Linked DNA regions of Homo sapiens: region 2 is linked to region 1. The links are contacts of gene promoters, found by promoter capture Hi-C in blood cells and fetal thymus (Javierre and others, 2016). All regions are on one chromosome and are shown on one strand. The core of a region is centred on a gene start or on the middle of the fragment in contact, and the rest is flanking DNA. Distances in the headings are between cores, read along the strand shown.

Region 1 (5,870 bases), core at 1,088-3,587:
GCAATGGTTGGATATCACCTACACTCTTTTTTAAATTTTCCTCTTTGGTGAGGAAAATTCTCTCATTTACTGATGAACTCTTAGGCAGAAAGACTGGAGACAAGCATCCCATCACACAAACCAAAAGATTTTTGTCCAAGGCCAATCTCTCTGGACACAATCTGGTCAGTGCTTCTCTCTCTTGCGTTGAACTGCCTCCCCTGGAACCTCATGAATGATGGATTATGAGGACATTCACAGACTATTTCTGACTTCTCCTTTATCGTTCTAACAGTGAAGTATCCTCTGTTCTCTGAGATATCACTAAGTAGCAGTCATACCAATATGTTCATGACCAATGCATTCGACCCAGGTGAAGGAAAAATCCCAGATGTCTCCTGCTTCCTTGCATGAATTACCTTATGTGAACACGGCTGCCAAAACCTTGACAGGTTCTCCCAGAAATGTCCATTCTAGGTTCACACAATGTCCAAGAAGGCTCCAGCACTTGTGTGGAGGGTCTCTCTGCACATTCTACCTCTCAGTTCTTCCTGTTTATTGTGAATAGGTGTGCACATTCTCTTTATGTCACTGTAAATAATTAATCCATAACCGGAGGCAAAAAGAATGAAGGTGTGGAAACAGTACAGAGCTAGTATAATAGTGGCAGCCCCAGAGTGAAAACATCAAGGGTCCAAGTCTGTCTTTTTTCCTACCCCTAAAGTCTGGAGAACACAATTCTCAAGTTATAATCAGGTACTTGGTTTTATAATATTTTGCTTTGTTGTTGGATTTAAATATCCAACTATGAGGCCAGGCGTGGTGGCTCATGCCTGTAATCCCAGCACTTTGGGAGGCCGAGGCAGGTGGATCACCTGAGGTCAGGAGTTCAAGACCAGTCTGGCCAACATGGTGAAACCCTGTCTCTACTAAAAATATATATTAAGAAAAATTAGCTGAGCTTGGTGGCGGACGCCTGTAATCCCAGCTACTCAGGAAGCTGAGGCAGGAGAATTGCTTGAACCCAGGAGGCAGAAGTTGCAGTGAGCTGAGATCATGCCACTGCACTCCAGCCTGGGCAACAAAAGTGAAACTTTGTCTCAAAATAAAAAAATAAATCCATCTATGTGACACCATCTTGTACTAAGCAGATTGTTTGGACTGAATAGTCTTTCTAGGTATGTCACAAAACCTGAATTCATAAAAGCAAAAGGTGACAGATTTGAGTACATGAAGACTAAAAACAGATTCAGAGAATAAGTTTGTATTTTCTATGTCAGTTTGCACTAAATTAATTTACAAACAAGGTCGCTGAGGCTTTGACTCAACTGTTAACACTTTCTGAGAGTGAGATTCTTTTGATTAGGGTCTTAAGGTCTTTGTTCATCTCAGAAGTCTTAATTGGTTTAATTAGGCTGACACCTACAGCCCTGTCTCATTACCATAAACTGTAGAGGGGTTCAACATGACACTGATTGTTTCTTAGAGCAAAGCCAGTGCAGTGAGTAGGATTCCAGGCCCCCCGGAATGAAGCAGGAAAACCCGAGGCCTGTGGATGCAGGATGTACTAGGGAGGTGCTGGGGAGTAGTGCAGATAAACCCAGAATTCAGTTGGTTGGTAAAACAAGAGTGATCTGAGTCCTGTGCTTGTCTACGTGATCCACCATTGAATGGCAGGCCAGCCATTGTGCAGGCATCTGCATATGAAGTGACTGGAAGCTTCACTGGAACAAGGATCTCCTTGGAAATTCTCTCCCCTCAGACAGCCAGGGTGCTTAACATGAAAAGAAGTTGTAACCCTATCCTTAAACTATAGAAGCCATCAGCAGAAGTTACAGGCTTATGGGGGCCCACTGGAAAGGGAAAATCAAAAGGCCTGTGGATTTCAAATTAATGAGTGATCTTAAGTTGCATTTCCTAAGTTCGGCTACAGACTCATATATTTCATGAGTCCCTCCCTACCCATTCCTTGCCTCTCCCTTCAGTTGCTGGGTTTCTGAATTTCTGTATAGTTAACCCTTATCTTGCCTCCCATTTGTTCAATAGAAATGATCACTTTTACTTGAATCTTTTGGTAGAATTGTATACCATGTGTTCCTGTCTAGGTTTAATCATCAGATTGTGGTCAAATTGCTCTGCCAGACTGTGTGAACAAAAAAGTGAATGGAAATTTTCGTTTTAAAAAATAATACTTTTGGACTTAGCCCGTGGCTAAGAAGAAGTAAGGAAGCCAAGCGTACGGATAGCAGCGAGGGGTCAATCCACGCCCGGCGTTGGGTCGGGGGTGGAGGAGTCGGAAGTGGTTGGGGTTTGGGGGAGGAGATCCGCTCACACACAAGAGGAGAGTGTTGAGCCGCCATATCTGCTGCTGCCGCCGCAGTTGCGAATGCAGCATCGGCGCTTAGCTGCCTCCGCGGTGCAGCTAAGGTTCGTGTCGCTACCCCTTGGCCCTTCGCTCTTGCTGCCTTAACCCCGCCGGCGGAGCCCGCTCTTCTGGCCTGTTGAGCCCGCTCCCTCACTGCCACACAGCAAGTTCCGAGACCATGGATTCGGGCAGCAGCAGCAGCGACTCGGCGCCCGATTGCTGGGACCAGGTGGACATGGAATCCCCGGGGTCGGCCCCGAGCGGGGATGGAGTCTCCTCTGCGGTGGCCGAGGCCCAGCGCGAGCCCCTCAGCTCGGCTTTCAGCCGTAAGCTCAACGTCAACGCCAAGCCCTTCGTGCCTAACGTACACGCCGCGGAGTTCGTGCCGTCCTTCCTGCGGGGCCCGACTCAGCCGCCCACCCTCCCGGCCGGCTCCGGCAGCAACGATGAAACCTGCACCGGCGCGGGATACCCTCAAGGTAAAAGGATGGGACGGGGGGCACCTGTGGAACCTTCCCGAGAGGAACCGTTAGTGTCGCTTGAAGGTTCCAATTCAGCCGTTACCATGGAACTTTCAGAACCTGTTGTAGAAAATGGAGAGGTGGAAATGGCCCTAGAAGAATCATGGGAGCACAGTAAAGAAGTAAGTGAAGCCGAGCCTGGGGGTGGTTCCTCGGGAGATTCAGGGCCCCCAGAAGAAAGTGGCCAGGAAATGATGGAGGAAAAAGAGGAAATAAGAAAATCCAAATCTGTGATCGTACCCTCAGGTGCACCTAAGAAAGAACACGTAAATGTAGTATTCATTGGCCATGTAGACGCTGGCAAGTCAACCATCGGAGGACAGATAATGTTTTTGACTGGAATGGTTGACAAAAGAACACTGGAGAAATATGAAAGAGAAGCTAAGGAAAAAAACAGAGAAACCTGGTATTTGTCCTGGGCCTTAGATACAAATCAGGAGGAACGAGACAAGGGTAAAACAGTCGAAGTGGGTCGTGCCTATTTTGAAACAGAAAGGAAACATTTCACAATTTTAGATGCCCCTGGCCACAAGAGTTTTGTCCCAAATATGATTGGTGGTGCTTCTCAAGCTGATTTGGCTGTGCTGGTCATCTCTGCCAGGAAAGGAGAGTTTGAAACTGGATTTGAAAAAGGTGGACAGACAAGAGAACATGCGATGTTGGCAAAAACGGCAGGGGTAAAACATTTAATAGTGCTTATTAATAAGATGGATGATCCCACAGTAAATTGGAGCATCGAGAGATATGAAGAATGTAAAGAAAAACTGGTGCCCTTTTTGAAAAAAGTAGGCTTCAGTCCAAAAAAGGACATTCACTTTATGCCCTGCTCAGGACTGACCGGAGCAAATATTAAAGAGCAGTCAGATTTCTGCCCTTGGTACACTGGATTACCATTTATTCCGTATTTGGATAACTTGCCAAACTTCAACAGATCAATTGATGGACCAATAAGACTGCCAATTGTGGATAAGTACAAAGATATGGGCACTGTGGTCCTGGGAAAGCTGGAATCCGGGTCCATTTTTAAAGGCCAGCAGCTCGTGATGATGCCAAACAAGCACAATGTAGAAGTTCTTGGAATACTTTCTGATGATACTGAAACTGATTTTGTAGCCCCAGGTGAAAACCTCAAAATCAGACTGAAGGGAATTGAAGAAGAAGAGATTCTTCCAGGATTCATACTTTGTGATCCTAGTAACCTCTGCCATTCTGGACGCACGTTTGATGTTCAGATAGTGATTATTGAGCACAAATCCATCATCTGCCCAGGTTATAATGCGGTGCTGCACATTCATACTTGTATTGAGGAAGTTGAGATAACAGCGTTAATCTCCTTGGTAGACAAAAAATCAGGAGAAAAAAGTAAGACACGACCCCGCTTCGTGAAACAAGATCAAGTATGCATTGCTCGTTTAAGGACAGCAGGAACCATCTGCCTCGAGACGTTCAAAGATTTTCCTCAGATGGGTCGTTTTACTTTAAGAGATGAGGGTAAGACCATTGCAATTGGAAAAGTTCTGAAATTGGTCCCAGAGAAGGACTAAGCAATTTTCTTGATGCCTCTGCAAGATACTGTGAGGAGAATTGACAGCAAAAGTTCACCACCTACTCTTATTTACTGCCCATTGATTGACTTTTCTTCATATTTTGCAAAGAGAAATTTCACAGCAAAAATTCATGTTTTGTCAGCTTTCTCATGTTGAGATCTGTTATGTCACTGATGAATTTACCCTCAAGTTTCCTTCCTCTGTACCACTCTGCTTCCTTGGACAATATCAGTAATAGCTTTGTAAGTGATGTGGACGTAATTGCCTACAGTAATGAAAAATTAATGTACTTTAATTTTTCATTTTCTTTTAGGATATTTAGACCACCCTTGTTCCACGCAAACCAGAGTGTGTCAGTGTTTGTGTGTGTGTTAAAATGATAACTAACATGTGAATAAAATACTCCATTTGAAACTCTTCGGTTATTTGAAATGCTTTTGAATAATGTTTAAATGTCATTATGTAATGCTATTCAATTAGCTTTATTACTTTCTCAAATAGTTGAATATGTTCTATCACTTAAAAACTTAAAAACTCTTCACCACTTACTGTTTTAAGTGAGGAATTTACAAACAATGCATAAGTGTGTATTAAAGGAATAATTTTAATTTTGAGAAAAAAACGTATGTTAAGGCTCTTCCCAGTGGGCTTTGTTTTCTCTGTCCAAGTCCAGTCAATAAAGGAGCTCTTCTGCTTCCCCACTTGTGATTTGAAAATGAAAGGCTCAGGCCGTCTTTATTTGTATAGCAGTAGTTCATGTAACATTATCCATAGGTTCTTGAAGACTACAACATTAAGCAAAACAATGTACAGCAGGTGTACATCGTACAACAATGCACAATGTATGACATTGTTCAATGTTGTTATGACATTGTTCAATGTTGTTATGACATTGTTCAATGTTGTTATGACCTTGTTCAATGTTGTTTAGTTATGACATTGTTCAATGTTGTTTAGTTATGACATTGTTCAATGTTGTTTAGTTATGACATTGATAAGGGGAAAAATTCATTTTGTTAGATGTTATTTCACTTGAAGTCACAATTTCCAAGAACCAGTGGACTATGTTAAGTGAGGACTTACTGTATTCCATCAGGTCCCATCACGTTAAGCATGGCCAAATTATAGGAGATTTGGACCATAGGTTTACAAGACTCTTTATTTTTTTAAAAGACAGGGTCTCACTCTGTCACCCAGGCTGGAGTGCAGTGGTGCAGTCATGGCTCACTGCAGCCTCAACCTCCCAGGCTCAAGCAATCCTCCCATCTCAGCCCCCCAAAGTGGTGGGATTACAGGCGTGAGCCACTGTGCCCAGCCTTGGCTAGACTCTTAACTGTACTCCATCATCTTAACAAACACAGCTCTTGGTTTTGTTCACCATGAAACTTGTGATATGGGTCACAACCCAATAAGGGGTATGGCTATTGAGAAGATAAATGCTTGCAATGGGGCCTTTGG
Region 2 (5,870 bases), core at 1,483-3,982, 530 kb after region 1:
CAGATCTTAAGTATATGGTAAGCAAAGAGGATGTTTACAATGAAGATGACAACGTTCTGTAAATGTTCACAGATATATTTAGACCAATTCCAGAGTCCAGTTTTTAATATATTGATTGGGTTCCAGTCTGACCATGAGCCTTCATAAGGGGTATGGCTAAAAGTCTTCTTAATCATTTGGAAGAAGATGCATCTTCTGTGTAAGCCATCTAGTTTGAATGCTATTTTATTTGTGTTTAGTATTGCTAGTCCATGTGTTACTACCTCAGTGGTGTGTTTTAATTGTGCTAATTCTGTTTGGAATGTGTCATGAACTTGTTGAAGTTCCTTAGAGCTTCCTTGTGAAAGAGGAAAAGTTCCCTTATCCCCTCACAGGGCATGTGATGTGGGTGTGGCTTGCTTCTTCAGTGCCTGCTGCTCAAACCTCTAGGGGGAGCATGCAGACAGGCATGTTGTGGGGCTCTGACCCCAAGGCAGTGTCTAGGGGTGAATGCTTACAGCTCCTGAAGCCCCAGTGGGAGTGTGTTACAAGGTGCTCTTTTAGTTTAGCCATCTGTAGGCAGCTTGTGTTAGCTCAATTAGACTCCCTACCTTATCGCGAGGACAGAGGGCTTTCTGTATGCCAGGATTTCTTGCCTTGGTGTACTGGAAGAATCAGATCACATGTGGGTTTGGAGAATGAATGCAATGTTTTATTGAGTGGAAGTTCTCAGCAGATGGATGTTGCAGGAAGTCAGGGACCCCAAACGGAGGGACTGGCTGAAGCCACGGCAGAAGAACGTAAATTGTGAAGATTTCATGGATATTTATTGGTTCCCCAAATTAATACTTTTATAATTTCTTATGCCTGTCTTTACTGCAATCTCTGAACATAAATTGTGAAGATTTCATGGACATTTATTACTTCTCCAATCAATAATCTTATAATTTCCTATGCCTGTCTTTACTTTAATCTCTTAATCCTGTCATCTTTGTAAGCTGAAGATGTATGTCACCTCAGGACCCTGTGATGATTGCGTTATCTGCACACATTGTTTGAAAAGCACGTGTGTTTGAACAATATGAAATCTGGGCACCTTGAAAAGAACAGGATAACAGCGATTTTCAGGGAACAAGGAAGATAACCATAAAGTCTGACTGCCTGTGAGGCCGGGCAGAACAGAGTCATATTTCTCTTCTTTCAGAAAGTGAATAGGAGAAATATCGCTGAATTATTTTCTCAGCAAGGAATAACCCTGGTAAATGCATATCTGATTGCCTTCTTTAGAGAGGCTCATCAGAAACTCAAAAGAATGCAACCATTTATTTGTCTCTTATCTACCTATGACCTGGAAGTCTCCTCCCTGCTTCGAGTTGTCCAGCCTTTGCTTCGAGTTGTCCCGCCTTTTCCAGACTGAACCAATGTTCATCTTACATATGTTGATTGATGTTGCATGTCCCCCTAAAATATATAAAACCAAACTGTGCTCTGACCACCTTGGGGACATGTCATCAGGACCTCCTGAGGCTGTGTCACAGGCATGTGTGCTCAGCCTTGGCAAAATAAACTTTCTAAATTAACTGAGACCTGTCTCAGATATTCAGGGTTCACAGTTATAATAGGTCAGTGTGTTGTTCCTCTCTAAGCTTATTATCTAATTGAAGTTTCATAAGTCTAGAGTCATTGTGGGGATTTTCGTGATGCTGATAGTTGAGTAATCTAGTTTAGGAACTTTGTCCTGACAGGTAGAGTATATAGTGTTTGATCATTGGAATATTAATTCTTTTTGTATAAAATAACCATCAATAAATAGTGGTCTTTCTAAGGCAGTTATATGTAGATTATGTCTTATCTTTCTGTGTAATTGCCATTGTGTCTTATGCCATTGAGTCTCCTCCTCTTAATTCAAGTAGATTTAATATACATTGCCCTGAATCCTGATGCTTTGGATGTATCCAATTTAACTATAGACATTTTGTCCCAATTTTCTGTGAATAATTTTCCTGATGTGTATAATGTTCCTTATGTCATTCCAAGTCTGAGTTAGTAAAATACTTAGCCTAATACACTGTGTTTGCAGCAAGTTTTTCACCATAAAGTTTCTTAATGTAAATAGGTTAGTTTTTAGGTGTTTAACTTGTGATCAATATTGTAATTGAATTCCTTTTGGGATTCTGGGAGGTCGTGTGTATGAGTCATCATTGACTATATCTCGTTAATTGCCTATGAGATAGATGAAAGTATAGATGTGGTAGTTGTTTGCAGGAGTTACGTTTATGTTCATAGGTCTGTATTAACTTCCTAAATTTTTGCTTCTTGTATTCCTGAAATGACTGAGTTTGAAATAATTCCAATTGCTGCAAATAGTTGTGGTGGTTTTCTTAGATGATATTTATCTAGTGAAGGTAAATTTGGTAAAATGAACTGCTTGTCATATCCTTGTCCCTCAAATTACATAACTTGTGGTTTGATGTATGTGACTTTAAGTTCTTTTTTGAAAAATATTTTGACTCTCCTAGGTGCTGGTTTGTAAATTAATCTTAATGGGTTAATTAGGATAGGTTCAACTAAATTTGGTTTTCATAATTTAGATAGAGGGTTTGTTATTCCTTTGGTACACTGTGGTGTCCAGTGGTGTGTTCCTAAGCAATGTGTCAGTCCAGCATCCTCTGCGAATTATGCATGGCCCAAGGTTCTGGGGTTTAACATAGCATTTTGCAAAAGAGATATCTCTAGCTACAAATACAGGTAAGTGGGAGTCTAGTTTGGCTATATTTTGATAAATAGGATGTTGGACTGACCATATAACTTTATTCTATGATCCATCAAATGGCTGAATCATGAAGAAAAAGTAATTTGACATACCTGAGTCTATTTTTGTGACTTTATCCATATTTATTTTGGTTCCTAGTGTTTCCCACCAGTTAATTGACTTAAATTGTGTATTGTTTCTATCTACATCTTCAAAATTAAAGTTTACATCATCCTGAATTACCAGTGGATACATTGTAAAAATAACTTGATTTTGTATATACTTAGTTTTCCTGGTAAATTTGTCTAATATAGTTATGTCTCTTGGTTCATTTCCTGTAAAGAATGTGCCAATAACCTCTGCTGTTTTGTAGGTCAGTGTGAATGGTCCAAGTACTAAGAGTGAGTTAGATAATAGCAGATTGTATATATCTGGTCTGTGAGTAGATGTGAATATTAATTGTTCCCATTTTGTTTGTTGTAATTTATCAAAAATAACTGTTTCTAATGTCCAGTTTCTAATGTCCATGGGTTTCTAGAAGATGTCGACATCCAGCAATCAGTAAATTTAGTAGGGATTTTCTATGTCATTGTATCTATTGTGATGACTGGGAACTAGTGTGGTTTTTGTGGTTGTGTCCAACATAAGCCTGCTTTGGTTTCTGTCACATTCCACCATAGAGTGGACTTTCCAGTTATGATAACATATCTGTCTACATTCTCTATAAACTCTTTGCTTATTGTGTAAAGGTAGTTTTGATATATTGTAGCCAAGTTTGCCATTTAATGTTGTAAATTTAGCATGTGTTTTATTATGCCAAAGTCTGAATTGTGCTGTGTCTGTTGGTTTGTTTTGTTTTGTAAAGCCTGTTGATCTTGGAACGTGTAACCATGTTAGTAAGCAACTTATAGTGTAGAATGGGCAAGGATAAGGTTTTCATCCGTGGGATAATGAAATGTAGCTTTAATATATGTAAAGTTAAGGTTAAAGCATATTAATGTTGGTTGTCCCTCAAAATGTATATCTTGTTGGGTAGTGTTGATTCTATTTTTTATCTTTATAAGTTCCTTATTTGTGGAGGGCAAGTATAAGTATACTTGTATTCAAGACAAGCTTTATCTACATACATTGTTTTAGTGTGTGTTTCAAAGGTAGTGTGTGTAAAGTGATAGTCAGCATTAGTTAAGATTACTGGGTGTCATCTATGTTTTCAATATAATTCTGCCAGTGAGAATTTTTTAGCCTTATTAAAGAATTGTTACTCCAGCTCTCTTTTGTCTAATAAAAAGAAAAAAGAAGAATTGTGAGACTGTCAAATAATTTTGGCTTTTTGCGTAATAATCATAAGATGAACAGGGTGGGTGAAGGCAAAATTTCCAAAAAACAGCAAGTTAGGAAAGTTAATTAGATGATAGTTATAGTATGTCTTATCCTCTTCTGTTGTTATTATATCATAATCTAATGGATATCCTAGTGGCATTGACACTTTTTCCTGTGGGGGTCTGATATATGGGTGTAAGATGAAGTGGTTGGTTTTGTAGCTATATTTAGTCTTGTGTCATCCCTTGAATCTACTTCATAATCATAATGTTCATTTCCTTCAAGTCCAGATTGGTACCAGAATTCATACCAACTATTAACAAATGACTTGTAGGAGTGTCGTATCATATCCAAGCATGTCATGTGAGATCTTCCAACATATGGTTCTATCTGTGGTACTATGATTGGGGATTGGTATGATATAGCGCTTCTTATGTAATGAACTGTTTTGATTGGCATGTCTGTTTCTATTAGCATTTCTCTACCTATTATGTGAGCCATCCATGGTTTGAGATGTTATTGAATGCTTCATTGTAGCTGCATAAGTTGGGGTGTCACATTTAGTCATGTCATTTATGCATTCTTCTAAAGTATGTTTAGGAATATGCGCAAAGATTCTATAAAGATACAATGATTGGAAGTGTGTGTAAAAGCTAAAAGCTCTTCAGGCATTGCTTTGGGTCAAATGAATATGAACAAAATAGTCTAATTGAAGCTCTAAGTATTCTTTTATCAGTCCCTTGACTTTCTAACAATTGTTCAAAAATGATATATTTTCATGAAGTATATATTGCGGAATTTGTTCTGGTAATCGTGTGATTTTAGGTGCTGTATGAGTTGGCACTGTTGGATATGTATGTGTTTGAGGCTCAGAAATTTTAATGGTTACTTTAGGAATAAACAGTAGTAGCAGTAGTAGTAGTAGTAGTAGTAGTAGTAGTAGTAGTAGTAGTAGTATCTGTTATTTCCCTTCTATATCTCCTAACATATTTTAAGCTATTTGCATCAATCTTATGTTTGCTATTAATTATCAGATGTATAGGCATTAAATATAGCACTGAAAACAAACTAAGATATAATAATCTATGTCATCCTAATATTTCTCTAAGTAGTATAGTCAAAGATTGCTTCCAGTAGTAGTATTGCTGCTGGGTTAGGTTGGGGTAGAACAAAGTAAGGTAGTTCTATGGGGTCTGTCCTCTCTTATTAAGCAGTTTAGCAATGCAACTTATATAATAGGTTAGTAGCCAAGCAAGACTTATGCAGTCATTGGGGTGTACACTTTCAACTAAACCTTCAATAGCTCCTAATGCTGCAGTTAGTTCATAAACGTAAGGAGCAGGAAGGTGGCAGTGGCGCCTAGATTCTACAAAGTCTGGTCTGAAATTCCAGTCCATGCCTGCCTGTATGGGCCAGTCTGCTTGAGCTAATTCCTGAAGGAAATCTGGTGAAGGGGCTCTGAAAGCTATAGGTGGCGAACATGAGGCTGAAGCTTAAAAGGAAGGAGGGCAAGGCGGGATATACATGGATGATGGAGATCCTGGAGAGGCTAAGTCCATATGCTGGGGATGCATTATAGCTGTCAGTCTGCAAATTATTAATCAAATAATATACTTAACAAGCAGATAGTGAAATTTGTAATTTTTCTGCTGTGAGGGGTGTGTGTGCTTGTGTTAGTTTGATTTATCTGGTTACAGTCTCCCTGGTGGCAATATAAGTAATAACAAGGCAGTAAAGTTACTATGATGGCTAATATGAGGTGAATGAGAAAGTTGATAAGACCAGTTGAGAAGCTACACAAATTTGTAGCCATCTTGAT

Evidence for each region. Contacts are between HindIII fragments. The CHiCAGO score rates a contact against its expected background, and 5 or more counts as called.
Region 2: a contact is called between a fragment that was not itself captured here and the fragment with the promoter of GSPT2 in region 1, in 2 of 17 cell types (non-activated CD4 T cells and M0 macrophages). The highest score is 9.1, in non-activated CD4 T cells.

The regions. Positions count from the first base shown.
Region 1 is chrX:51,741,105-51,746,974 of GRCh38, forward strand. GSPT2 (G1 to S phase transition 2) reads left to right here and starts at 2,338. Exons shown (of 1, transcript NM_018094.5): 1 at 2,338-5,128. The coding sequence starts at 2,523. The coding sequence ends at 4,409. The HindIII fragment of the contact is 6,668 bases long and covers 1,697-5,870 here.
Region 2 is chrX:52,270,998-52,276,867 of GRCh38, forward strand. No RefSeq gene overlaps it. Among named protein-coding and RNA genes, the nearest start is that of MIR8088, 63 kb to the right of the region's middle. The HindIII fragment of the contact is 2,219 bases long and covers 1,624-3,842 here.